Linked DNA regions of Homo sapiens: all the other regions are linked to region 1. Evidence: promoter capture Hi-C in 16 types of primary human blood cells and fetal thymus (Javierre and others, 2016). All regions are on one chromosome and are shown on one strand. The core of a region is centred on a gene start or on the middle of the fragment in contact, and the rest is flanking DNA. Distances in the headings are between cores, read along the strand shown. Region 1 holds the start of MYOZ2 (myozenin 2). Region 2 overlaps SYNPO2 (synaptopodin 2). Region 3 overlaps SYNPO2 (synaptopodin 2). Region 4 overlaps USP53 (ubiquitin specific peptidase 53).

What was found. Contacts are between HindIII fragments. The CHiCAGO score rates a contact against its expected background, and 5 or more counts as called.
Region 2: a contact is called between a fragment that was not itself captured here and the fragment with the promoter of MYOZ2 in region 1, in 1 of 17 cell types (monocytes). The highest score is 6.3, in monocytes.
Region 3: a contact is called between a fragment that was not itself captured here and the fragment with the promoter of MYOZ2 in region 1, in 1 of 17 cell types (monocytes). The highest score is 5.3, in monocytes.
Region 4: a contact is called between a fragment that was not itself captured here and the fragment with the promoter of MYOZ2 in region 1, in 3 of 17 cell types (M1 macrophages, non-activated CD4 T cells and M2 macrophages). The highest score is 6.0, in M1 macrophages.

What each region holds. Positions count from the first base shown.
Region 1 is chr4:119,132,569-119,139,422 of GRCh38, reverse strand. MYOZ2 (myozenin 2) reads right to left here and starts at 3,591. Exons shown (of 6, transcript NM_016599.5): 1 at 3,441-3,591; 2 at 2,822-2,911. The coding sequence starts at 2,897. It overlaps LOC102723967 (a long non-coding RNA gene), which reads right to left. Exons shown (of 3, transcript XR_001741422.1): 3 at 5,869-6,611. The HindIII fragment of the contact is 2,789 bases long and covers 1,912-4,700 here.
Region 2 is chr4:118,974,645-118,981,498 of GRCh38, reverse strand. The region is part of intron 1 of SYNPO2 (synaptopodin 2); the gene reads right to left. SYNPO2-AS1 (SYNPO2 antisense RNA 1) reads left to right here. Exons shown (of 3, transcript XR_939120.3): 2 at 2,887-2,948. Among named protein-coding and RNA genes, the nearest start is that of SYNPO2-AS1, 6.6 kb to the left of the region's middle. The HindIII fragment of the contact is 1,904 bases long and covers 1,408-3,311 here.
Region 3 is chr4:118,991,548-118,998,401 of GRCh38, reverse strand. All of the region lies in intron 1 of SYNPO2 (synaptopodin 2), which reads right to left. Among named protein-coding and RNA genes, the nearest start is that of SYNPO2-AS1, 10 kb to the right of the region's middle. The HindIII fragment of the contact is 915 bases long and covers 2,781-3,695 here.
Region 4 is chr4:119,262,586-119,269,439 of GRCh38, reverse strand. It overlaps USP53 (ubiquitin specific peptidase 53), which reads right to left. Exons shown (of 19, transcript NM_001371395.1): 13 at 1,958-2,120; 14 at 1,020-1,172. Among named protein-coding and RNA genes, the nearest start is that of ARLN, 35 kb to the left of the region's middle. The HindIII fragment of the contact is 2,988 bases long and covers 2,370-5,357 here.

The DNA of each region.
Region 1 (6,854 bases), core at 2,342-4,841:
TGTCTCCACAACTAATTCATGCATAGATAATGGCAAATTATCTTTTGTCTTTTACAATAGCACTTGTTAGATGGTAACAACTGTGGCTGAGATACTTTTATATAAAGCACAGAGGTTTGTCTCACAAGAGTAACCAGGACAGCTTTACCATTAGCTCTGCTTCCGGCCAAGGTGATGATGATGGTAATCATAACTATGATATAATGAGGAAGGTAAATCTAAAAGCAGGCAGCCTGCATGTTTGGGATGCTTTTTATTAGTCAATTGTTGGGAGTGTAGTATATTTGCTTCTAGTACATAATTTGAAACCAAATCACAATGGATTCAAAATGAGCAACAATTTGGGGTTGTGATTAGTGGAGGCTGGGAGTTATCCACCTCTCACTCATTCTATGCAGTTAGCATTATAATCTATATGAAGAGAATTTTTTAATAATTCTTTGAGGTTATCACTCCTGATGGAATGAGGGCTCTGATGTAAAACTCCCCATTTCTGGTTCTTATATTTTTCTAGTGATTTATCTCAAAGACTCACCGGCTGCAATCTCTTTCCCCTACAAGAATGGGATTGAATTTCCACCTCATGTTAAGAGGACAACAAGTGATTTAGCCAACTCATTGTCACATTTTATACTCCTCCAAGCTAAATGTTTTGGTAAGTAGTAATAAAAATTAAATGAGTTATGAGGCTGAAAAAAAATTCTGATGCACAAGGGGAAAGGAGAGAAGGCAGGAGAAGGGGATTTCGACTGGAACATCCTTTTCAATTTATCTTTATAAAGGACAATCCAGGCAAAATTTGATTTATTTAGTCTTACAATTAAGATCAAAGCAGTTGCATGTTTTATCTTAAATTATCCAGATTTTTACTCCTGTAAAATGTTTGAAAGTTTGGAGGATCATTCCCAAAAAAGTTTCTCTGAAGTCCATTTTATTATGCATCCTGAGAAAAAATTATACTCCCCTAGCTCCAGATCTCTAAACATCATGCTATACACAAATAGTAAAGTTCCATATAAAATGTCAGAGGAAATAAGAGAAGAAAAATATTTGAGCGGTTTCATAAAGTACTGAAGTTATTTCATCTGGGATGAGCTTGGAAAGAGTCTGATTATCCCCATGTTATCTGAAATACTTGACATTCCAACAAAGACAGAGCATGTGACTCCTCTTAAGGGAGCTGGTACTCATCCAGTGACATGGGAGGGAGGGCTTCAGCTGACTTTACGTGGCTAGGATTTACTGGTGGTGAGATAGTGGTTTTGAGGGTTTCCCCCACTTTGATATATAATTGTGTGTTTTCTCCCACATATTTTTTATAAAAACAATAGTTATGTTTATAAAAAAAAGGAAAAAAAACTTCTTACCCTTATAGATCTATGTCAGAGCTAACAGTAGATTCCAACACATGATTTAGGCTAGAATACATTAAATGGACTGACTGTTTTATGATTAGGATGTCATTAGAAAATAATAACATGAAAGGTCTATTTTAAGGTAAACAATTTTGTCACAAACTCCAGTGATCATCTGATTTTTGCCACATTGATCAGAAAAGCTAAAAAATAATTTCAAGTAAACTACTTGAATCTGGAAACACAAAGATGCATGAAATTTTAAATAAGGCATGAATTTTGGAACTTTGGATTGGTATGAATTCAGTTCTGGTATCTGACTCAGAATTATTCTCATTTTATTCCAAGCTAATTTGACATTACAGTAAAACATGAGAACCAAGTTGAATCCAGTACAGTGGTTCTGTATTGCAGAAAATAGAAAACAACAACGGACCTCTTAGTTATGATTACATTGCGTGGGGAGCATCTAAAAGTCTTTGATTCTGTTCCTCTTGCTTTATGGAAGGTGTAATATGAAAACATTATGCTCAATACTCTTCCCGGGTCTCAAGCTTCTAGGTCTCAATATTGTAGTGGTGAAAGGCTGCATTCCTTGTCAATACAGGGGAAATAAGGAGGCATTCTGAAAATGCCACTAATATATCTGGAATGGCTCAAATCAGCTCCTAAGAGGACCTGAATATTTTTCTTAACATTTAAAACTGATGCTATACGTTGCTTATAAACAAAGTTGAATTTCCTTTATAAGAATCAAAATGCAAGTTATAAAGCATTGCTTTCTCAAGTTAGTTGCTAGAATTTAAAGAAAAGGAGAGAGTGAAATATTACCTTGCACGTAATATATATTAAAATTTTTTTGAGTCATATGCTTTGAGACTACAATAACTTTATATTTTCTCAGAAGTTACAAATAAAAGTAGACTTTGCACACAAAATATGTTAGTAAATCAATTAACAAATATGAAGGGTTAAATAAATAAGCAATAGAAATGGAGTTAAATAATAAGCAATAAATATGAATTCCAACTTAATAGCTTGATAAAAAAGATGATAGAACTTATTTTGAGTGATTTATATAATGTAAGGTAAAAGAAATCAAGCTAAACCATGTGGGATGGACAATAAAGACAAGATTGTATGAGACTTGTCCAGAAAAAAAAAAGAATCGAGAGTGATCTTAACTTATAATGTGGAAGGCAAGCCAAGCAGAATGTACATCAGCTGTCAGATTGCTTCATGCCTTTTACAGCAGTTGTTCCTCTGAAAATAGCTTCCAAATGAGAAAGGATGACTACAAAAGGATTAGTTACCATAGGCTTTTCTACACCCCCTAGAGCTCCAGGTTTGTTATGACAGAACAGCAAGAATCTAAAGGAAGTAAACTATGGAATATTAAACAACGTCAGGATGGAGCCACATTCATGCTGTGCTATATTAATGCTACGAAGGATTTTTATTGATACCATTTCCATGGACTTCCTTCATGATGGCTGTTGCTTGCTGTTTTCTCTGCTTCATCATAGTATTATGTGATAGCATGGTTTTTTTGTTCCCTGTTAAAAACAAAGGGACATTATTGAGGCAATGTGAAGAACTCATTTGGAGTGTCTTATAATCACTGTTTTGAAAGACAACATCTTTGTTCTTTATTAAAAAGTTATTATCGCTTGCTACTGAAAGACTTCAATACGCATTCCTTATCTGGTGACAGAGTATGTTATTCATTGACAGGCAATGTCACAGTGAACAGAGACCCAGTCTGGACATTAATACAATGATCATCAGGCAGTGAGAAACAATGAAATTGCTGGTCTCCTTTCCCCTCCCTCTCTTTTCTCCACAGTATTTTAGTCTGTCATTGTCTCCTCACTGGCCTTCATTTGTACCAGCATCACACTCCATCAATTCCAGCAAACTGTAAGAATGAAGAAGACACTAGACTAAACCAGAATTCTTTGGTGGTAGCATTTTAATATTGGCAACAGCTGCCCTTTAAAGCAGAGAATGCCCATTTATGAGTCACAACTCTGAATATCCTTGGACAACTGACTAATGAAACATTTTAGGAAACAACATACTCACCTTGCTGTTAGATTGTGCTTTTTCAGCGGGGATGAATCCCAGTTTGTGGAGGAAGACTCTGGAGATGGACTATGGATGGCACTTGGGCCTGATGGTTTTTATCCTTGAACCTGGGACAGCATGGTCCCTACTCTGACTCAAACTGGGGACTGAGCTTTTCTGAAGAGACTGGCATTCAGCTGACATCAACTGGCTATATATAGCACCAAATACTTTAGCTACTCATATCTTCCTGGCGAAAGGGAGGAACAGGGAAAGATTAGGCTCTCTCCATTGTGTTTCTAGTTTGTGAGATGGTTAAATGAAACGTTCATTGGACATGCAGAAAGTTTTTAGTGAGCACTTTCTGTTGAACAGATAGTAGCCAAAAGGGATTTTAAACACTTTTAAACATCTAGCTCTTATGTTACATGTTAATTGAGGTGGCAAGAGACACATGCATGAATCAGAACAGAATGATAGATTTTTCATAATTAAAATGAACAATATAGGCAGTAATATCTATGTAGACTCAAGAAGAAAGGAAGTAATGTGGGGTGGATCAATAGAGCCAGTTCTTAAGCTGTAGTGAGAACTCATGCTAGGTTGAGAAAAGTATGTAGTATTTGAATAGTGAACTCAGGAAGCATTTTGAAATGAACCATTAGAGGATAAGCCATGAAGCTGGGTAAAAGCTGAGACTCATAACTGGGTCATGCTTTTTGAAGGGCCTACAGAGACCAGTCCCTGCAAAGTTGACCAGTCTTTACAATGTCTAGGGTCAAGGATTTTCATTTGCAGGCCTGACAAGATTTGAAAGGTTTGCCTGTCAAAAGGTTTGGCCTCCTTGATGGTCCCTGGACACAAAAACGTGCTCTCATCTCTGGGCTTTTCCTTTTACTGTTTCCCCCTTTCCTTTTACTATTTCCCCCTTTCCCTGGTTGAAATGGTGTCCTCAACAGATAATCATTATGTTAATTTTGGTTTCCAAAATGAAAATAGATACTGTATTCCTTTTACTATTTCCCCCTTCCATACTTTCCCTCTACTCACATGGCACAGTCATGCATTCAGGACTCTGCTCAGATAACAATCCCTCATAAAATCCTTCCCTTATCACCTTGTCTAAAATATCACACTGTGCCACTCTCTAGTCCCTTACTCTGCTTCATTTTCTTTATATTTTTCTATTAGTTAAGATAAAAGTCAAATGGGAGTGACAGAAACCCCCCCAAAACAGAACTGTAAAAAGATGGAAGATGTTTCTCTCACAGGTAAGCTTAGTCTAGAAGTAAGTAATTGAGGGTTTGCATGACTGACATAATTATCAAGGGCTCAGTTACCCTCTAACTTTTTGCTCCACTATCCCTAAAATGCAGACCCCTTGGGCCTAATTGGCTGCCCCAGCTCCAGTCAGCATGCATATATTTCAACCAGCAGGAAAAAGAAAAAAAAATGAGAAGGGAACACTGTCTTCTTTTCAGAACATGTCTGATATTTTGTTCATACTTCTGTTTACATCCCATTGGGCAGAACTTAGCCATATAGCCGTACATAACTCAAGAAAGGTTGGGAAGTGTAGCTTCTATTCTAGGTGGTCATGAGCCCAATTAAAATTCATACATAACTTACTAACAAAGAAATAATTGTTGCTGAGTGACAACTCAGTTTTTTCACTAAGAACATGCCAACATTATTCTATCTATCTATCTATCTATCTATCTATCTATCTATCTATCTATCTATCTATCTAGCAAAAGTTTATGTTATGTACAATTCTAAAGGTTGAAATGGCGTCCTCAACAGTTTTACTAGCACCTGTAATCCCAGCTACTCTGAAGGCTGGGGTGGGAAGATTGCTTGAGTCCAGGAGGTAGAGGTTGCATCTATTTATGTGATATCTCTTTTTTCTACTAAACTATGAATCCTATAATGGCTTGGGCTTTGTATCTTCAGCAGTTGGAATTGTATCTGGCATATGGTAAGCACTCAATATTCATTGAATGAATGAATAAATGAGTAGGTTGGAGATTAACTGCAGAATGCATTAAAGGTTTGGCATGAGTTTGGAATTCAAATGAACAGTCGCTTGAATGTACAAAGGTGGTGGCTATTTGTGGGAGGAATTGTATTTTATAAGATTGAAATCGGTTATACATTTTGGTGCCTGATCATAGGATTGAAAGTTTAAGGTTGTAAATCACAGCACTTTGGGAGGCCAAGGTGGGTGGATCGCTTGAGCCCAGGAGTTTGAGACCAGCCTAGGCCAGCTAGCAAAACTCTGCCTCTACCAAAAAAGCAAAAACAAAAACAAAAAACCCAAAAATTAGCCAGGTGAGTGGCATGCACCTATAATCTCAGCTACTCCAAAGGCTGGGGTGGGAAGATTGCTTGAGTCCAGGAGGTAGAGTTTGCAGTAATCCATGATCAAGCCACCGCACTCCAGCCCGGGCAAGACCAGACCTTGTTTAAAAAAAAAAAAAAAGAGAAAGCTAAAGGTTGTAGATAGCAGGTTTAAGCTAATCTAGCTAACCTATTGCAATTGTTTCTAAACAAACCATTTGCATTGAAAGTATAATTAGGTATCAAATGAGAAACAATTTTGCCAAAGCAAATAAATTTAAATTCCCTCTCAAAATCCCTTGAGTGCCCGTATGTTCCTGGCTGTAGCCTTTACCATAGTATGCTATTAGACAAGTCTTTTAAACTCTGTTTTCTCATCTGTAAAATGGTGATTACAGTATCTATCACATAAAGTCATGGACATTTTACATGGGACAATTTAGAAATTCCTTATACTTAGTAAAAATTTAATAAATGATTTTTTTCCTTTTGCTATTATTATTTCTGCAATATGGTAGGATTTAGAATTTTAGAGTAATCAACTGCATTATTCAGTTAAAAAAACCAAAGATTAAGAGAGTTCTGGTTTTCCTATTTGATCATCTTCATATGTTTCCAACTTTATGTTACATACAGTTCTAAAGGTTGAAATGGTGTCCTCAACAGATAATCATTGTTATATTAATTTTGGTTTCCAAAATGAAAATAGATACTGTATTTTAAAAGATTGTAAAAGTTTTAGTGAATATAAGGTCTTACACCTTTTTGTCTATTTTTCAAATAGATTGTACTTAAAATTCTCTTGCCTTATTTTATAAGTTCATTCTGGTCTCTGAGTTATTATCTGTTCTGAAAAAGAAGAAAGAACAAGTCACTGATGTTGCAGTCTTAAGATGGGATATGCTATCCATGTGCTTCACAGCACAAATGGTGAACTTTAAACAGAACTTTAATGGTTATTTACAAAGCATTTTCAGGTGGTCCATACTGAAAGCCAATGCCTTTTAATTTTAAATCAAGTCACAGTTAATCGATTTCTATTTCATCTGCACAGAGATCTGGTACTAGACAAAATTAAAATTCAGCCCAAAT
Region 2 (6,854 bases), core at 1,110-3,609, 160 kb after region 1:
TCAGTAATTATGGTAATTACATTAATCACAAGGATTGTTGCACGGAGGAGGGTATTGACATTGACGTGGCTACCCTATGATGAAGCTCTGTGGGGGGTCTGCTCTAATTGGCCACCACCAAAAGTCTCTCATGCCTATGATTAACTTCTCTGGTTGTTTATGTGAGCAGGCTTAGGAATTCTGCTGGGTTGTTCTGTGCAGGGCTTATGAGACAGGTTGGTTGCAGGGCTGTTAGGCTGTTCAACTAGAGAGCCCATCCTGGAACAAATGGGTCAGATAAAAACACACGCTGTGCTGTCCTTCATGGTTTGTTGCATTGTTTGTGGTACTTTGGGTGATTTCAGTTAATCATGAATCTCCTTCAACAAAGATTTTTGCATGGAAAATGCTAGTTCTTCTAAACTGCTCTTGGGCACAGAGATAAACTGGACCAGCGCAATGAGCAGGAAAGAGTGCTTTATCTAGCAGTTATTTGGTGCTGTGGGAAAAGCCCAGAAAAAGGAAACTGTGCTTAGTAACTTGAGATTGAGAATCAGCTCTGCCACAAACTGGGTATGTGACTGTGAGCAAGTCGCTTAACCATTCCAGACTCAGTTTCCACATAGGCAAAGTGTTTCATGTAACTCAGATTAGGGGTTCATAGGCTTATGTGCAGATGGCATGCCACACATGCCACCACCAGGATGAGGCCTAAGAGGCAGCGTCCTCTTTCCCTCCCTTCTTTAACTAAACCAGGTTCACTTTTATCCATTTTATAAATTGGAATCTGAAAACCACTGGATTCTATATATGTGCTTCTTTTCCAGCTACTTTATGCTGTGATAGTTATAGATACTCTGAATGGTGATGCTGACACTTATTAATCAAGTTCTTTTTTTTTCAAATTGTAAGTGAAATCATATATGTCTCTGTTAATTTACAAGTCTAGTTTCTGATAAAATTAGTCCAGTCGGTGGAATGATGGCATGTGTGGGTGTGTGCTGGGGAAGGGGGGAAAAGAAAGAAGTAACAAGGCTCATGGTGACCCCACAGCTCCCAGGAGGATGCAGGCCAAGGAAGGATCTAGGTAGACCTTGCCAAGCAAACAGTAGACAGTTCTAGGAGTGTGGATAGACTCTACCAGAAAAGCCAGCTAGAAAAGGGATGGTTCTGGTCAAGGAATAGTCCGGAGAAGGTCTGAAGGCACATCAGCAGACTAACAAGGCTTTTCACTCTGTGCCTCTAGAAGACATATTGTAAGGTCTGAGTGGGCCCCCAAAAGAAAAATACATTAGAAAGAGTTGAAAATCAAGATTTCCAGAAAACAGATGAAAAGTTTTTACTACACTATACTATATATGGGTATATATGTCATTATTAATAGCAGCCATCATTAAACTAATATGATTTATTTTCATTCAGGAAGCTTTCCCTTTAAGTTAGCTTAAAAACCGCATATACTATGCAATGTATCCAACTTTATTCTTCAAACTCCAAAAGAGTTTTTTCCTCTACAGTGCTTAAAGATAACACAAGTGTGGATGAGTGATGGTTGAGATCCAGTCTCCTTTCTTGAGAATAACACGAGGCACAGACCAAGCAATAGACCAAGGTGCTCAGAATTATGAAATGTCCACTCTTTTTAGTTCAAGTATGCTGAGTGCGGAAGAAACTTCCTGACCTCCTAGTGTTTTTATGTCACCATCTGTAACCTATAATTACAGAGAGATTCTAACTTATTAAAGTAATTGCTCAGACTATAATTCCTGGTTATATGAATTTCTGAGGTACAATTTGTATGGCCTCCTGCAATAGATGCCTCTGTTGCTACCCTGTCATTGTGCTGAAAATATAGTATAGATAATGAAAGGATATCCAACCAGTGAACAAATATTTACTGAGCACATATCATTGGCAAGACATTGTCATAAACAGTACGGAAATACAAAGTTAGGCCAGGGATAGGCCTTGCCCACAAAGTGCATGCAATCTAGTAAAAAGTTGCATGTGTAAACAACTAGAAAATAAGGCAGCCAATAGTAAGTACTTGATAAACAAGATGGTAGTATATGATTCTGACTTAGAGCTGAGGGTGAGATTTTAGGTCATTGGCTCAGGAAAGGGGTTTACAAAGTAAATTACCTTGAGACCCGGCCTTACAGCATACAAAGACTTTTGTAGGTGACAAAATTCTTTCTTTCCACAGGAAGGGAGAAGATGCTAAGCAGTACTGGCAAAACAACGCTACGGCAGTAGGAAAGCATAGCCACTATTCAAGAGATAGCTAAGCAGGAGAGACTGTGGAGGGTAAGGGAAAATAGTAGAAGGCAAGTCTGGACAGGAAGGTCAGAGCCATATTCTAGGGGTGTTTTTGTTTTGTGCTAAGGAGATGAGAGGTGCCATGGAGCTGCAAGCCAGAAAGCAAAATGCACAGAACGATTGGAAAGCGAAAGAGGCCGATCCAAAATCACCTCTGGAGTATATCGCATCAGTACAGGTGTTAAACAATAAAGATTTCAACTAGAGCAATGGCATCAGAAATGATGTAAGAATGCGCTATGTGTGCGGGCCAGTGTTATTGAAAAGCAGAATTCAATTCAAGGGCACTACATAGGATAAAACAATAAGTTGGACAAGGGAGTCCTATACATAAAAAGGTTACAGGCACTTTTCAACAAATGGGCTAAGTGTGTGTGTGTGTGTGTGTGTGTGTGTGTGTGTGTGTGTCATGGCAGGAGTATTTCACATGAAATACACAGGTATATTTGTACCTATGATTAGTCTTAAAGTCCTGGCATCATTTCTCAAAATAAATAACATTTTTTAAAAAATCTGGAAGCAGGGAGATTTGATTGGGCACTGATAATCATTACCTTGTAAATGAAGTTGAATGTTTTTCCGTTTCAGGAAATCATTGGGACAAGTGGAAAATCCATTGGAATACACATATATATAGTAAACAGAACAAGGTAATATAAATTACCCTGATTATTCATAAGCCAACTGGTGACGAGGATAAGGTATAGCCGAAGTTTCCCTGCAAATGGTTTGTCATGTTTTTCTTGTCAAAAAATTAATGCTAGACCCAACTCTTTTGTGTTTTACTGCACTTTTTACTATGCTAGGGAAACGGTCATATTTTATTTTTGATGCAACTGAACAATTAGAGAAAATGATTATCTAGAATTCTAAAAAGTAAATAAAATGACAACAAGATACAGTAATTCAATCAATCAGCAACTGCAGGTTAAATGCTTGCTTTGAGGGCAACTTTGGGCTAAATTGTGGGGAACAAAGGGAAAGATGTGACTTGGCTCATTCCTAGAGAAGCTTGAAATTTAGATGGGCAAATCTGGCCAAGAAGCAAGTTGCAACTAGAAAATCAATAAGTTATGACATCATAAGCCATTGACGTTTTCAAGGAATTCACCCAAAGATCTTAGAAAATTCCCAATCCACAAATTCTACAGTAGCATATAATTCCCTCATAAAATATTCATGCAACGGCAACTTGATAACAACAAAACTATGTTGGACTATATATGAGGTCCTATTTGCTGGGTTCACTCACTTGGCTAGTAACCTACTACCTGGAACCAGGCTTGCAGAACTCCTGAGTGGAAGTTATGTCTTTGCAAAATTATAAGTGGCAATGCCATAAACCTACAGGGTTGCTTTAGAGATGTCAAAAGTGGGATTGCTAACACTGTACAAGGTCAAGCACTACTCACCATGATATACGTTCAAAGAAGGCCTACATAATGCAGAAATTTCTATAGGGCAGAGTTGATGCTCCACAGACAAGGTAGGATTATGATCCAGACATGTCTGATTTCTAGCCTCTGAAGCTCTTCCCTGCCATCAGGAGAATGGCTGGATCCCACCCACAAGGCTAGTGTCTCCTCAAGTTGAGAGGTGACAGCATGCTGGCAGTCCTCAGAGCCCTCGCTTGCTCTCGGCACCTCCCCTGCCTGGGCTCCCACTTTGGTGGCATTTGAGGAGCCCTTCAGTCCCCTGCACTGTGGGAGCCCCTTTCTGGGCTGTCCAAGGCCGGAGCCCACTCCCTCAGCTTGCAGGGAGGTGTGGAGGGAGAGGCGTGAGCGGGAACCGGGGCTGCGTGCCGCGCTTGCGGGCCAGCTGGAGTTCCGGGTGGGCGTGGGGTTGGCAGGCCCCGCACTCGGAGCAGCTGGCCAGCCCTGCGGCCTCGGGCAATGGGGGACTTAGCACCCAGGCCAGTGGCTGCAGAGGGTGTACTGAGTCCCCCAGCAGTGCTGGCCCACCGGCGCTGCGCTCGATTTCTCCCCGGGCCTTAGCTGCCTTCCCACGGGGCAGGCCTTGGGACCTGCAGCCCGCCATGCCTGAGCCTCCCACCCCCTCCATGGGCTCCTGTGCGGCCCGAGCCTCCCTGACGAGCACCACCCCCTGCTCCACGGCGCCCAGTCCCATCGACCACCCAAGGGCTGAGGAATGCGAGCGCACGGCGCCGGACTGGCAGGCAGCTCCAGCTGCAGCCCCGGTGCGGGATCCTCTAGGTGAAGCCAGCTGGGTTCCTGAGTCTGGTGGGGACGTGGAGAGTCTTTATTATCTAGCTCAGGGATTGTAAATACACCAATCAGCACCCTGTGTTTAGCTCAAGGTTTGTGAGTGCACCAATCGACACTCTGTATCTAGCTGCTCTGGTGAGGACGTGGAGAACCTTTATGTCTAGCTCAAGTATTGTAAATACACCAATCGGCATTCTGTATCTAGCTCAAGGTTTGTAAACACACCAGTCAGCACCCTGTGTTTAGCTCAAGGTTTGTGAATGCACCAATCGACACTCTGTATCTAGCTGCTCTGGTGGGGCCTTGGAGAACCTGTGTGTGGAAACTCTGTATCTAACTAATCTGATGGGGACGTGGAGAACCTTTGTATCTAGCTCAGGGATTGTAAATGCACCAATCAGCGCCCTGACAAAACAGGCCACTCGGCTCTACCAATCAGCAGGTTGTGGGTGGGGCCAGATAAGAGAATAAAAGCAGGCTGCCCTAGCCAGCATTGGCAACCCGCTAGGGTCCCCTTCCACAGTGTGGAAGCTTTGTTCTTTTGCACTTTGCAATAAATCTTGCTACTGCTCACTCTTTGGGTCCACGCTGCTTTTATGAGCTGTAACACTCACCGCGAAGATCTGCAGCTTCACTCTTGAGACCACGAGCCCAGCGGGAGGAATGAATAACTCCAGACGCGCTGCCTTAAGAGCTGTAACACTCACTGCAAAGGTCTGCAGCTTCACTCCTGAGCCAGCGAGACCACGAACCCACCAGAAGGAAAAAACTCCGAACACATCTGAACATCAGAAGGGACAGACTCCAGACGTGCCAACTTAAGAGCTGTAACACTCACCGCGAGAGTCCGCGGCTTCATTCTTGAAGTCAGTGAGACCAAGAACCCACCAATTCTGGACACAAAGTCACTAGAGTCAATCCAGTTATTGGGCAAGAAAGATTTCAAAAGCTCTGGTAGGGGACAGGGAGTCTATTAATAAATGGCAGTCTCCATAGCCGGCACTTTTATATTTTTGCAACAAATCTGTAAAATATTTATTTTTCTCCTGACTTTGAGGAAAGTAAGGCTCACAAAAGTTATGGGACTTGTGTCTGATCATACAGCTAGTGGCAGGAGAATGAAATTCAAGTTCAAAGGCATTTACTATGGTAGATTCCCTCTCAGGCTGTGGAGCACATATTCTTAGCCCTGTGTTTTTTGGGGTATGAGACTGGGTCACTTAATGCTGGTTGGCTCTGATCCAGAGTCCAAGTTTTGATGATTAGGCTTCTGCCTTGTGCTAGGGAACTAATCCTGTAACTATATCCCTGTGTGTCTTACTCTTTGTGACTTAATTGTGCCCTTAATAAATTGTGTGGTAACCCAGCTCTTCTATGACAGGAATTTCCCCTTGCACCTCCTCCTCCTTCCTGGGGGTGAAAGTCCTGCTCTTGAATTTCGCCTGATTGCTTGGACTCTGCTACCACTTGTTAGTAGATATCCCAAGTCCTGTCTGTGTGTATCCTTAAGTTCCTCATAATGGTTGTATTGGATCCTTCATCTCTGTTTGTCATTCATATGCCAGCCTATTCCCACTCTTAAAGCTTGGCTTTTTCTGAAAGGAACTTCTTGCCCAGACAACCCCAAATTTTCTGTTGCCATAGGTGCCCAAACTCTATTCTACTTGTTGATTAGTCTTCCTTCTAGCAGTAGTACTACATAGATTTTGGGATCTGTCACCCAAATTATTTGTTACTCTGTGTGCTGGTCTTTGTCTAGCTCCTTTAGCCCAATGACTGAGCGATATGTGGCCCATAAGATAAGTATGACAGAACAGTGGTGGGAAAGAGTCTGGTGTACTCCTGGAGGTGCAGAGGGTGGCCTCACGTGGGTGCAAGGTGTGTGTGACAGGTTATTGAAAGTAAGGTTGGATTACTGGGGTAGAACCATATTGAAAAGAGTTTTGAATGCCAGAATGTAACACTTGGCTCTCATCCAGTAGTGATGAGAAATTATTATTGGTTTGTAAGCACTCTAGGGAGATTAGTCAGTGTGTAGGATGGACTAGACAGGAGATGACTGAAGATAGAGAAACAAGGAAACCATTAAAGTTCTGCAAAAACAACGTGATGAGAGCCTGGATTAGAGTTATCTGTAATAACCCCAGGAAGGAGGTAAGAGACAACATTTGAAGCAAACTGCACCTTAGTGAGAGATAGGGTATGTAGAGAAGCAGAAGTCAAGGATGAATCTAAAGTCCTAATAATGGTGATGCTGTTGGTAGAAGAAAGAAACATAGGGAAAGAATCAAAATCTGGGGAAAGAAACCCTAAAATCCCAGCTCTCTTTTC
Region 3 (6,854 bases), core at 1,989-4,488, 140 kb after region 1:
TAAAATACACACGATATTACATGATATTACACGATAATATAATTCTCTTTTGTTTGTTCACCAGAAAGGAAACTTTGCCCTTAAAGTGTGTTTCACTGCTTAGCAGTCCTAGCAATACAAATAATGCTTCATCCTTGAGCGCTCTCTTAAATTCATACTTTCAAACAGCAAAAAGGCTGCAAAATTTAGAATATGACCAAGCCAGTGAAGTGTGCATATTAAAAATATATTTACATAATTCAAGGCCTTGTAATTTTCCTCAAATAACTGACACATACTTTTTGAAAAATGCGGTTATCAAGCAGTGCAGTTAACCAAGTCCTAGTCTCCCATCCTTACCACCCCCGTCAGAATCCTAACACTGTCTTCTCCAGGAAGCGCCCCTCTCCTTTCTCCTCAATTCCCCCAAAGCTATTTTACTGTCAGGAGTCAGGGACATCTAAGATCTTGGAAATAAGATAACAGGGCTTGCCTTGGAGGGTTAACTCTAAATCAACAGGTTGCCTATGAGAACAGAAATGTTTAAAGTTGCCTCATAAGTGGACTGAGCACAGAACAGAGCTGACTAATGGGAGGTATTAACATGTCTAAGGAAAGAATGTGTCTTTCTGAATGGGTTGTCTAGAAATAGAAATTAGAAAAGAGTCATAGACAAACAGTGCCCATAAAAGTACTGCCCAGAGAAGAAGGCAGCCAGACTAAAGATTTGCTCTGCCTGGTGCAAGTAACAGGTGCATTCAACTGCAGAGGTGAGCAGAGCAGGCATCCACTATTGAATCTTTCAACTCACAGACTTTGTTCTGATTTCACACTCACAAATCTAGCTTTACTAATAAATTTGGTTCCTAAGGGAAACTATCACACTGACCAGAAGATGCAGGTATTCAGTCTTATCAATATGTTTTTTCCCTCCCTCTGAAGCAAGAAACTAGAATTCTAGTTTAGCCTCAGTGTCCCGTGTCTTCAGGTAGCATGAGTATAGTATCCCTAGATATTGTTTGAACAATGACAAAACTGGTTTAGAATCTGCATATTTGAGAGTCAGCTGGGGACTATGCTACACTGACAAAGGTAAGGCCATCTTGAGAGATCTTATATCAGCCAGTCAATCAATGTTTCCCTACCTCATTACATTTTCTTTTAATTTTTTTTTTTTTTTTTTGAGACGGAGTCTCGCTCTGTCGCCCAGGCTGGAGTGCAGTGGCGGGATCTCGGCTCACTGCAAGCTCCGCCTCCCGGGTTCACGCCATTCTCCTGCCTCAGCCTCCCAAGTAGCTGGGACTACAGGCGCCCGCCACTACGCCCTGCTAATTTTTTGTATTTTTAGTACAGACGGGGTTTCACCGTTTTAGCCGGGATGGTCTCGATCTCCTGACCTCGTGATCCGCCCGCCTCGGCCTCCCAAAGTGCTGGGATTACAGGCGTGAGCCACCGCGCCCGGCCTTTTTTCTTTTAAATTTTTGTCAAAATTAATTGACTTCTTTTCTGCTTGCAAATGGACATTTATTGATTGCTCTGTCTTATGACACTTTTTTTTTTTTTTTTGAGACAGAGTCTCACTCTGTCACCCAGGCTGGAGTGCAGTGGCGCGATCTCAGCTCACCGCAACCTCTGCCTCCCAGGTTCGAGCGATTCTCCTACCTCAGCCTCCCGAGTAACTGGGACTACAGGCGTGTGCCACCACGCCTGGCTTATTTTTTGTATTTTGAATAGAAATGGGGTTTCACCATGTTAGCCAGGATAGTCTCAATCTCCTGACCTCATGATCCACCCCCACTGGCCTCCCAAAGTGCTGGGATTACGGGCGTGAGCACCTGGCCTTATGACATATCTTACATCTTGCGTTATATTTATTTTTATTGTACAAAAGTGTATCTCTCTCCTTGAGAGAAGGTATTGTTTTGTTTATTCAATCACTTTTTTATCAATATGGAAATGATATACAATTATATTCTCCGTATACTCAGGCTAGTAGGGGTGGCAGACAGAAAAACAAGTTATACATCTGGCAAAGGTAATAAAAGTATTCATAAAGAACAGAAGCATTGCAAAAGTGGTGGACGAAGGGGGTGGCTGATCATTTTGGGAAACCTTTCTAGAGGAGGCAATGTCTGAGTTAGATTTTGGGAGATGAGTAAAACTTCAGTCACTGCAACCAGAAAGGGGAGGAGATTTCAAAGCAATGGGAACAACAAGTGCAAAGGCAAAAGCGTGAAATGACCTGGGAACCAAAGCACAGCTTAGTGTTTCCAAGATGTGAAGTGCAAGGAAGAGAGTCATGAGAGAGATGAGGCTGGACAGGTAGAGAGAGGATGAAAAGTTTGTGTATGCCGCATAATGGAGTTCAGGCTTTCCATTGTAGGTGATAGGAGCTAGCAAAAGCTTTTCAGTACAAAAGAGCCTGGATCGGATTGTGTTTAGTAAGACATCTTTAGCATCAATGTGGGCAAAGAAATAAAAAGAGGCAAGACAGAAAAAAGCAAAATTAGATAGATGATAGATAGATAGATAGATAGATAGATAGATAGATAGATAGATAAGATAAATAGATACATGGACAGATAAAGAATGAAAGACAGCATTTGGAAAAGTCCAGACCTAGCACTATCCAATAGAAATACAACATGGACCTCAAATGTAAGCCACATGTTCAATTTTAAACTTCCTTGTAGTCATTTGTCCCAGGTCTCATAAGTTATTGGTTATTAAGGGGCAGAGCTAAGATTTAAACCTGGGTAATCTAGCTTCAGAGTCAAAGCTTATAATTTGACTCTGAAGCTTACAAAACACATTATACTGCCACTCTGAATGCAAAGCCTGTGGAATCAGACAACCTGAGTTCAAATAACTCCTCCTTCACTTACTAACTGTGTAACTTGGAGCAAGTTATTTAATTAACAAACTTTGGTTTTTCTCATTTGTAAAATTGGAAATAATATGCCTATCTTATGGGGTTTTTGAGAGGAATAACAGACATAATGTATATAAGATACCCATCACAGTGATAGGTATACAATAAATAGTAAATAATAGTTGCTATCATCACATATATTGGGCTTGGAGCTCAATATATATCCAAGTTGGAATATATATTTCCCATCAAATATCTAACATAGTATCTGGTCAGAGCTCTGTTTTTTTCAAGAAATGACTTTGATTCATCACAAAGGCATATGTTTAAAGAACTTTGCAAATGAGACCTACAGGCTGGGATCATCCTAAGTCAATAGCTCAAATAATCATGGGTATTAGATCATGAGACAGCACTGGTGAGTGTTCATGGCACTTAGATACCATAGAGAATTGCACTGGAAGTAAAATATATGTACCTTGCTCTTACATTCAAGGAGTCTAAAAGAATGAACTGAATTATGAGAGCACGTTTGTTTGTATGTCCTTTCATTAGTTTGTGATTTGAAAAATAGTAAATAAAAAATATTCATTAGACAAGGATCTATGGTTATATGCCTAAAATCCAAGAAAATTTAATCAAAGGGTCTAAGTACATCTTATCTCCTATTCAGATAATCTAATTCTTGCATGGGCAGGCATTTGGATAAGAAAACAAATGCCAAAATTTTAAAAATTAAATACCCAAAAACTAGAAACAAAGATCTTTTTCTATAACACCTACGATTTTTAACTTTAGATGTCCAAGATGTTTATGGGAATAACATGCCACTTTCTACCAAGCTTGTGGTTATGTGATGTAAATTTACTCTGTCACTAGGATTGCATTTTACCAAAACTTTGCCTTTTTCTAGATGATAAAATGCTAGGTACAAAGCCTTTTAAGAGTTTTTAAAGAAAATTCCTCTGTAACCAATTAGTACTCAAACTCAGCGATTCCCCAGTTCATATATTGAATTAACAGTGCTCATATTGATGCATCTAACCCAATTGTCACTCCATCTCTCAATTCTTTAAATTACATTTAGGTGGTAGGTCTCCTCTTTCAAAACAGGGCTCAACTAATAACACACAATGTTCTGAACGCCAAGCTCATTTGATTTTTCTCATCTCAGTTTCTGTCAGGAGACCCGCCTAGGAAACCTCTCCTCTACAAGATGTTCAGTGGTCACATGCCTGGCTTGTCCTACAGGCACAGCAGATGAGTAACAAGTGTGTTTATAGATTTTGTGATGCTCCAGCTGTCGCTGATGGCAGGGTTTTCTGCTAAAATTGGTGAATTTTTGGCTATCTGCCTCTTTCCCTGAGTAACTCAAGCATCACCAGCGGAGCACAGTGGTCTTAGGAGGCCACACGTTGGAGAAAGAAATTAGATTCTTTGTAGGAACAAAACTACTTGTCAGAGTGTGGCCTAATATGGTGGTAGTGACTGACCCAGAGGCCCCCTAGAAGAACCAAATGTTCAACAGTAATAAAAGGAACTATTAATCAGCTCAGGGGCAGTGCATAGGACTGACGATCAGCTGGTCCGGCTTAAGCCTATGTCTCTTCTGGCTTGCTAGGTAAGACTAGGCAAAGCATTAAATCATTCCGTGCTTCCAGCATCATAAGTCCTGGGATTAAACATGATAATGGAATATATTTTCAACATGTCAGAATATAAGTAAACATTCAAGAGTCCTTTAAAATTTAGAAAATTCATAAAAATATTTCAAATACAAAGTAAAAAGTAATTTGGGGGAAAAACATGGGAAGAGAGAAAAGACTCTGAAATCAGTTAAACAGGTTCTTATACAAACATCTAGAAATACCATACTAAGCTGTAGGTCATATAGGGGGAAAACCTCCATCATGGGAGTCTGTAGTCTAAGAAACTTGTAGGCCAAGAGACTTGTGCTTGAAGAGGAAAGTGGAGAAGGAAGGAGGGACATTGCTGTGGCTTACACACAAGGACAAATCCAACACTTGAGTGGTGATATGTTGAAACTCACACAGACACATTAACAAGCTGTACTTGACAATTTGATCAAATGGAATATATTTCTCCATTGACTTTTAAACCAAACTAAATCAAGGAGGCCTCGTAAAATGAGATACGTTTGTCTATAGGAAAAGGTTTCCAAATAAATTTCAATCCACTAAAATTATATTTCTCTACAATGGCTAATCCTCACCGTCCATCATGCTTACTATTTCATTTCCACTTTGTAAGGCACTATTTTTTTTTAAAGAGAATAACTACAAACACACACACGTGCACACAAACACACACAAATACACATTTTGTTTGTCTTCTCTCTCTTCCTTCTTTAATTAATTCCGAAAATCAGAATTTAATTTAAAAATTTAATTGACAATGTAAGTAATTCTCTTATGCTGCTTTATTTTCCAAGGACTAACACTGGTTTCCCATTAACTCGCATATCTACTCTTATTATCTTGCAGATCGACTCTGCTTGGTTTGAGTAGTTTTCTTAAGAAGATGAATCTAGCTTTGCCCAACCACCCACCCAGGGTCCAGAGTAGAGAATGCTTTCTCTTTGTGCAGAGCCAGAGTGGAACTGTCTTGTAGACAACAGAAGATGCCCCACATCTGAGTAGCAAGAGGTAAAGCCATGCAGAGAAGTCAGGGTCCCAAAATTGGTGGGCGCTTATGAAACTACTCTAAATGGAAGTAGAGTCAACCTCAGAAGCTTTGCTGAGCCAGGTCAGGATCTCCAAACCTAAGATGCAATAGCAAGTCCAGGTGCAAATAATTCCAGATCAAGTGCATTTATGAGGTTGTTGGTGGGTGAGTAGGTCATGGAGAGGGCTCAGGGATGGTGAGAGGAGTCCTAACTTACTGCCTATAACAGCAGGTCCTATGGTGTGAACCAAGGACCTTGGAGGCATCCCTGAGATTCTTTCAGAGGGTCTTTGGGGTCAAAACTATTTCCTAATAATAATAAGGCATTGTCACTTTCACTTTTATGAGTATACAGGGGAGCTTTCCAGAGGCTACCTGACAAGTGATGGCACCATCACTGTGATGGCTCCTGGAATGTGTGCTTCCGAAATTGGAAACCTCATTGTCATCCTTGATTCATCACACCCTCACTCCATTATTTCTTACATCATGTTGCTTCTACTTCAGGATTGTCCCTTGAATCCAGTCCTCTTTGTCACAGTTTTATTTCAGTCCTTCCTCAGACTGTTTCAGCAGCCTGGTGTTTGAACTCCCCTCCAATCTCTTCACTTTTAATCCATCCTCTACACTACCATAATCAAATCATGCATCCACCCTTCCACATAAAAAACCTGTGTAGAGTCTTGCCTATAAACAGAACAAAATGTAAATGTCTTCACTTATCATACAAGCAAGATCCCCCACAATCTGACCTCCACCTACCTCCCTAGCACCATCTCCTGCCGCCCTCTTTTTCCTCCAGGCTAAAGTGAGGCCACAATGAAGTTCTCCCTATTCTTAGACCGTGTCAGACTCTTTTAAGACTCTACACCTTTGCACATGCTGTTCACTCTGGAATGAACTCCCCTGAATCCTTTCCAGTCGAACTCCATTAAGCACTATCCTCTCCCCGTTTTATTCTATACTTTCACTTCCTCAGCCAAGCACTTCTCTGCTTCGGGGCATTTCTATGTACTGTTTCTGCTTACAATGCTCCTCCTCTCACCCTTTGCATTGCCTGCTGTTTCTTACCCATTGATTCTTTGATGATATGAGGCCAGAAGTCCTCCCAGCCCCTTTCCCTCTAAGTACAATTGTTAGAACTACAGGAGTCTCTACTTGGCTCTGCCCCAAGCACCATTCAGGCATCTCTGCAAAAGTCAGTGCCTAAGGAGCTTCAATAGGCAACATATACCTCTTTCTTCTTTCTCTTCTTCTCCCCCACCCCTGCTCTGTCTCCCAAAGTCTAATCACTTCAATCTTAGACTTTGATAGAAGG
Region 4 (6,854 bases), core at 2,614-5,113, 130 kb before region 1:
TTAAAATAATAAGAGCTAAAGGTAACTGAATGGTCACTATTTGCCAGTTGTCTTACTCATTTACTTCTTTGAGGTACAATTACTGTCTCTATTTTGGGTAAGGAAACTGAGGCAGAGAGAAATTAGAAATTTGCCCAAGTTCACAAAGTTTGTAAGTCTAGAACCAGGAATATGAACCCAAGTTGTCTTGTTCCAATGCTTCTATTCTTACACACATATATACTATTTCTGGGCTTAAAACTAGGTGTCTTTTGAAAAACATAAAATGTCTGAATCTAAGAGTATCAATAATCTGTGAAAGGAAAAGAGATACAGCTTCATTAAGAATTTTTAAAAAGCCTTTATTTTAGTTTTTTGTGGATAACTGTTAATTCTCAATCTTACTACCCTTGATTAAATGAGTTACTTTTATGATTACACATTATTTCATTAATATGTTTAAAGGTTGCTAACAAAATCATCCTGAACATCCACACAAGAGTTAGATGTATTTCTAAACTGTAATGGTACACAGTATTGTGAGGTTTCATTCTGGACCCAAGTTACAGAACCTGGCTTGTAAAAATTAGTTATGGGATAACAGTAACAAGACAGAGTTGAATAAAAACGAGGTTAAGAACAAACTACAGCAATAGTAACTTTGAACTGCTGTTGCATTCACTACCAGTAAATTTAATTTTGGCATTTATGCCAAATTACTAACTCATGTTTTTCTGCTCCAAGCTGATAATTAACTCCTTGAATGAAATGCCACATTATTGCTTTATTTGGTAACTGTCCAGATTGCCTCAGGCCTACCACAGTCTGAGTGCATGAAGAAACTCAAACAACTCATGGAATCAAACTGGTCAGGTAAAACTACAGCTCTCAGAGAAATGCATAAATCAAAAGACGAATTTTGTTATCTATTTGTTATTATCTTTTCACAGCCAAGGAAAGCTAGGTAAGCATCCTCCGATAAGTGAAGAAAGGAGGACACTCACTTGGAACTATGTAAAAATGACAATTTAAACACATACCTGGTCCTTTCCCTACACCTGTGTGACTGTGGCTCCGATTAGATGATGAAATATTATCAGTTGGAAATTTCTGATTTTCTCTCTGCTTTGCCTGATCACCAAATCCATTTTCTTTTAAATTATCTGACTTATGAATTACAGGCTTTTCACATCCTTAAAAAGAGAAGCAAAAATGTATCATTCCTTTCCTTCCCATGAGAAGAGATGTTTGAATCATTTTTTTCAGATTTTTTTTTTTTTTTTTTTTGAGACGGAGTCTCGCTCTGTCGCCCAGGCCGGACTGCGGACTGCAGTGGCGCAATCTCGGCTCACTGCAAGCTCCGCCTCCCGGGTTCACGCCATTCTGCTGCCTCAGCCTCCCGAGTAGCTGGGACTACAGGCGCCCGCCACCGCGCCCGGCCAATTTTTTGTATTTTTAGTAGAGACGGGGTTTCACCTTGTTAGCCAGGATGGTCTCGATCTCCTGACCTCATGATCCACCCGCCTCGGCCTCCCAAAGCATTGGGATTACAGGCGTGAGCCACCGCGCCCGGCCCAGATTATTTTTAACTGTAAAAAAAGTTACTTAAAACTTAAGCGGATTGACATCATTTAAGAATTTTGAATTGCTTTATAATGCATCCAAAAATGACCTAGCTGTTTCGGACTTTTCCAGTTTACTAAATCACTTAAAATGTACTTCTAGAAAGAGCTACTAATGAAGCCTCTTCTGTGATTGTGTGACCATAATAGTGGGTAACTCCTGAAGGTGCTTCTGAGGCCACCGATGAGAAAAGGTTCATTCCAAAATACTAACAAAAATTACTAAAATTTCCTCAGCTCTACTGAAAGTCAAATTTGAAATTATCCTCTATATTCATTTTATATTCAGAGTACTAGTATTCCTAGTTGACTGTGATAATAGAAAAACATTGAGAATTTTTAAAAGAAAGAATTACCCATATTTTCTGCAACAGATTTGTAATGTGACCAGCTGATGACCTGCCTGAGTGCATCCTCAGTAGAAACTGCTGTGCCATCTGGGTTTGCATAAAACAAAAGTAGTGGCTGAAAGTGGCATCGAATGCATTTGGAGACAACATCTTTCCATCTAGTTCCAATCTTTTAAAAAAACACAATGAATAAAGACAAAACAAAACCTTGTAATCAATGTGTTACATGAAAAGACAGACTCTGAGTTACTTTATATTTTTAAAAAATTTAGATATGCAGCTGCTAGTAGTTCAAGTATGTATCATATAATTAACTGTATTTAGTAACTAGTCTAAATAAAAATATTTTAAACATTATCTTTTAAAAATTTGACGGGCAAAGATTATAAACTTCAAGGTGATTAAATTTTAAAAAGCTTTCCAAATATGTGGTTGACTGACATTTGACAAAGACTTCAAGACAATTCAATGGAGAAATATAAGAGTCAGCTCAACAAATGGTGCTACAACTGGAGAAAAAGAACTTTTACCATGAGAAAAATAACTTTAACCTGACTTCATATAAAACAACAACAAAAAAATGAACTCAGAATGGCTCACACAAAAACTAAAACTTACAGAAGAAAACAAAAGAGAAAATCTTTGCAACCTTGGGGAAGGGCAGATTTCTTAGCATACCAAACCATAGAAGAAAAATATTTTTAAAATGGACTTAATCTAAATTAATTAATAACTTTTGCTCTTGGAAAGACACCATTAAGAAATTGAAAAAAAATAAGCAACATACAGCTAATAAAGGACTGGTATGCAGAATAAAGAATTCCTACAACACATTAATAAGAAGATAATCCAATGCGAAATACTGGCAAAAAATTGGACATTTCACCAAAAGAAAGATGTAAGAATGGTCAAACAAGCACATGAAAAGATGCTCAAAATATTACCAATGACAAGGGAAATGCAAATGAAAACCACAGTGAGATAATATTATACATACACGAGAAGGGCTAACATTAAAAAGAATACCAACACGAAGTGCTGCTGAGAATGTGGAACAACAGGAACTCTCATACATTGCTCTCATAAAATGCAAATTGGTATAACCACTTTGGAAATCAATTTGACAGTTTCTTGTAAAGTTAAACAGACACTTACCACACAACCCAGAAATCCCACTTCAAGGTATTATCTAACAGCAACGGAAAAAAATATGTTCACAGATTACTCATACTTCAACAGGTAAACGGATAAATTGTTGTACAGCCATAAAACACACAATAAAAATAAAGTGTGAATCCAAACAACATGAATGAATCTTAAAGACATTATGCTAAAGGAAGGGAGGCAGATACACAGTAGTACATACTGTAAGAGACCATTTATATAAAATTGTAGAATGAGTGAAACTAATCTATAATGAGACCAGTGATTTCCTCATCCTGGGGTGGTGTGGGGAGTATGACAACAAAGAAGCCTGACAGAATTTTTCTAGCAGATGAACATGTTCTGTGTACTGATTATGGTAGTTACATAGGTAAATACATTTATCAAAACTCCAACTGTACACTTAAAATGGGTGTATTTTAATGTTTGTGCACTATACCTCTATAAAATTGATTTAAAAGCAAAACAAAACCAACCAAACAAAAACACCACAAAGCATTCTAGAATATTTTTGCAGGCAAGGGGACTTTTAAGAACAATTCTGATGAGCTTTTTTGAACTACACATATTCAGCTGTTTACCCTCCTCACTGGGGATTCCAAGAGACTTGAGGAGTCCATTTGTTTTGTTGTTGTTGTTGTTGTTGTTGTTGTTTTGAGAAAAGGTCTCACAGTCGCCCAGGCTGGAGTTCAGTGGCACGGTCTCGGCTCACTGCAACCTCCACCTCCCAGGTTCAGGGGATTCTCATGACTCCATCTCCTGAGTAGCTGGGATTACAGGCATGTGCCACCACACCTGGCTAATTTTGGTATTTTTAGTAGAGACAGAGTTTCACCATGTTGGCCAGGCTTTGAGGAGTCAATGTGAATATAAAATAAAAAACTTCACAGGGTGATTAATACAGCCAGTTCTTCCTCCAAATTTTGAACAATTTAAACTATGTAAAAGCAAAGTAGAAGCTGCAAATGTTGTTACACATCAACTCAAGATGAAACTTAATAAACTCCTACATCAAAGTACTAAGTAATTCAAGCAAAGTGCTGATTTTAAATATAAATACCAAAAAATTTTAATAGCTTTATTGAGTTGTACTATATGAAGTAAAATTATCTAGTTACAGTGTACAAGTCATTGAGTTTTGACAATACAATTGTGTAATCCTCACCCCAAAATCTTACCTTGTACCCCATTTTGCAGTCCCTGGAAATGAGTGATCTACCCTCCACACCTTTGTTTTTCCTTCTAGAATTTCATATAAATGGAATCATAGCATGTAGTCATTTATATCTCACTTCTTAGCATAATGCTTCTGAGATTTTTTCACATTATTGCATGTGTCAGTTCAATAGTTCAGTCCTTCTTGCTGAGTATTATATTCCACTGTATAGCTATACCACAATTTGTTCATCCATTCACCAATTGCTGACATTTGAGTCATTTCTAGTTTGGGCATTATGAAAACTACCATGAACATTCAAGTACACGTTTTACATGGACTTACATTTTCACAGGAGTGGATTTGCTGGGTTATATGGAAAATATATGTTTAAATTTATAAGAAACTGACAGTTTTGAAAGTGAATGTTCAATTTTGTGGTTCCATCAACCTTGTGTGAGAGATCCAGCTGTTCCTATCCTCACCAACTACTGGTCTTTTTAATTTTGGCCATTACAACAGATGAGTACTAGAATCTCATTATGAATTAAATTTGTATTTCCATTGTGGCTAATGATGTACTGAATATCATTTCAAGGGCCATTCATGTATATTCATTGGTGAACTGTCAACATTTTTTGCTGATTTTTTAATTGGATTTTAAGAGTTCTTTCAATATTCTGGATACAGTCTTTATTAGATAAATGCTTCACAAATATTTTCTCTCAGTATACGGTTTGTCATTTTATTCTCCTAATAGTATCTTACTGAAGAACAAAAATTTTAACTTTCAATGAAGTCTAATTTACCAGCTATTTTTATGGTTCATGCTTATTAAATGTTATCTAAGAAATCCCTATATATAAATAGTAGTTTTACTATCCTCCCCTGATAGTCCCATCTCAGTCATTTCTGGTCTGTTTTTATTAATTTTTCTTCAGGTTCTTTGAATATTTGGTAATTTTTTATTGAATGCTATTTTGAAGTGGCATATTGAATTTCATTGAACTTTGTAGTCTTGGGTATTGAATTTTGTTCTGTTATTTTAAAAGTGGGATTAGCTTTGAACTTTCAAGACTTTAAGCTTTTTTTGTTTGTTTGTTTTGAGACGGAGTCTCACTCTGTCACCAGGCTGAAGTGCAGTGGCGCGATCTCGGCTCACTGCAACCTCTGCCTCCTAGGTTCAAGCAATTCTCCTGCCTCAGCCTCCTGAGTAGCTGGGACTACAGGTGGGTGCCACTATGCTAAATTTTGTATTTTTAGAAGAGACGGGGTTTCACCATGTTGGGCAGGATGCTCTTGATCTCTTGACCTCGTGATCTGCCCACTTTGGCCTCCCAAAGTGCTGGGATTATAGGCATGAGCCCCCGTGACCAGCCCGGCCTTGTTTTAAGCTTTTTAATATCAGGTCCAGAGCAACCTTCAGCCTAGGAATAACTTAGCCCCATTATCAAGGTAATACTTTTCTGAAGGTTCCAGCTAATGCCTACATGTTATATCATCTCTCCACTCTTTATGGTGGGGATACAAACTATTACTAACCTTGTATGATTTTTGAGAATTGTTTTACCTTTTGTTTTCCAGTGATGCTTCCCATCTTTCCCAACTAACCCCAAACTTGTGTGGGTTCACCCCTCACATGCACAAATCACAATTTAGCCAAAAATTCCAAGGAACCCTTCTGTCAATTTCCAGAACTTTTTCCCTGTACAGTTTTCTTTCTAGTATTCTGTCCTGCAAATTTTAGCCATCTAGGCCTCCCTGAACTCCAGTTTCAGTCTCCAGAACTCAGTGACACTACTAGGCTTTGTTTGGGCTCCCACTGCCTGCACTGCAACCCAGAAACTACCTCTAGGCAGTAAGCAGGGGGTAATTATAGAGCTGAACTCATTTGTTTCCCTTTTCTCTGTTCAACTGCATGTTGTTCAATGTCTTGAGTTGTTTCACCTATGTCCTAGTTTTAAACAGTGAAATGGCTATTTCTATAGCAGTTAATCCTTCATGGGTAGAATCAGAAGTCCACTAAATACCAAACATTTGAATTTGTATTGTCTTAATCACAGTGCTGATAAATGGCCTTTTGTTATATATTAATAAAATGGAACTAAATAGAATTCTACATCATTTGCTTATAACAACCAAAGAACTTGTATTTTTAAATGAGTTTACTACTTAATAAAGATTGCCAAAGCCAGTAAGCCTTGACAAGACCAATAATTTTCAACTGTGTTATGTCTGAATTTCCTGTAGAACTTAAAATTTCAGATACCTGGCTTTACACCACTGAATCAAAACTTTAGGAATCCAGGAATATATGTTTTTTTAAAAGCTCCTCGTGATTCCAATACTCCTTATTAAGAACTACTATTCACTACTTTTCTAGACAATATTATTACTATTTGAGTAAACAAATTACAGTTGGCCCTTGAACAACACAGGTTTGAACTGCACAGGTTCACTTATATGTGAATTTTCTTCTGCCTCTGTCACCCAAGACAGCAAAAGCAATCTTCCTTTTCCTCCTCTTCAGTCTACTCAGCGTGAAGACAGCAAGGATGAAGACCTTTATGATGATCCATTTCC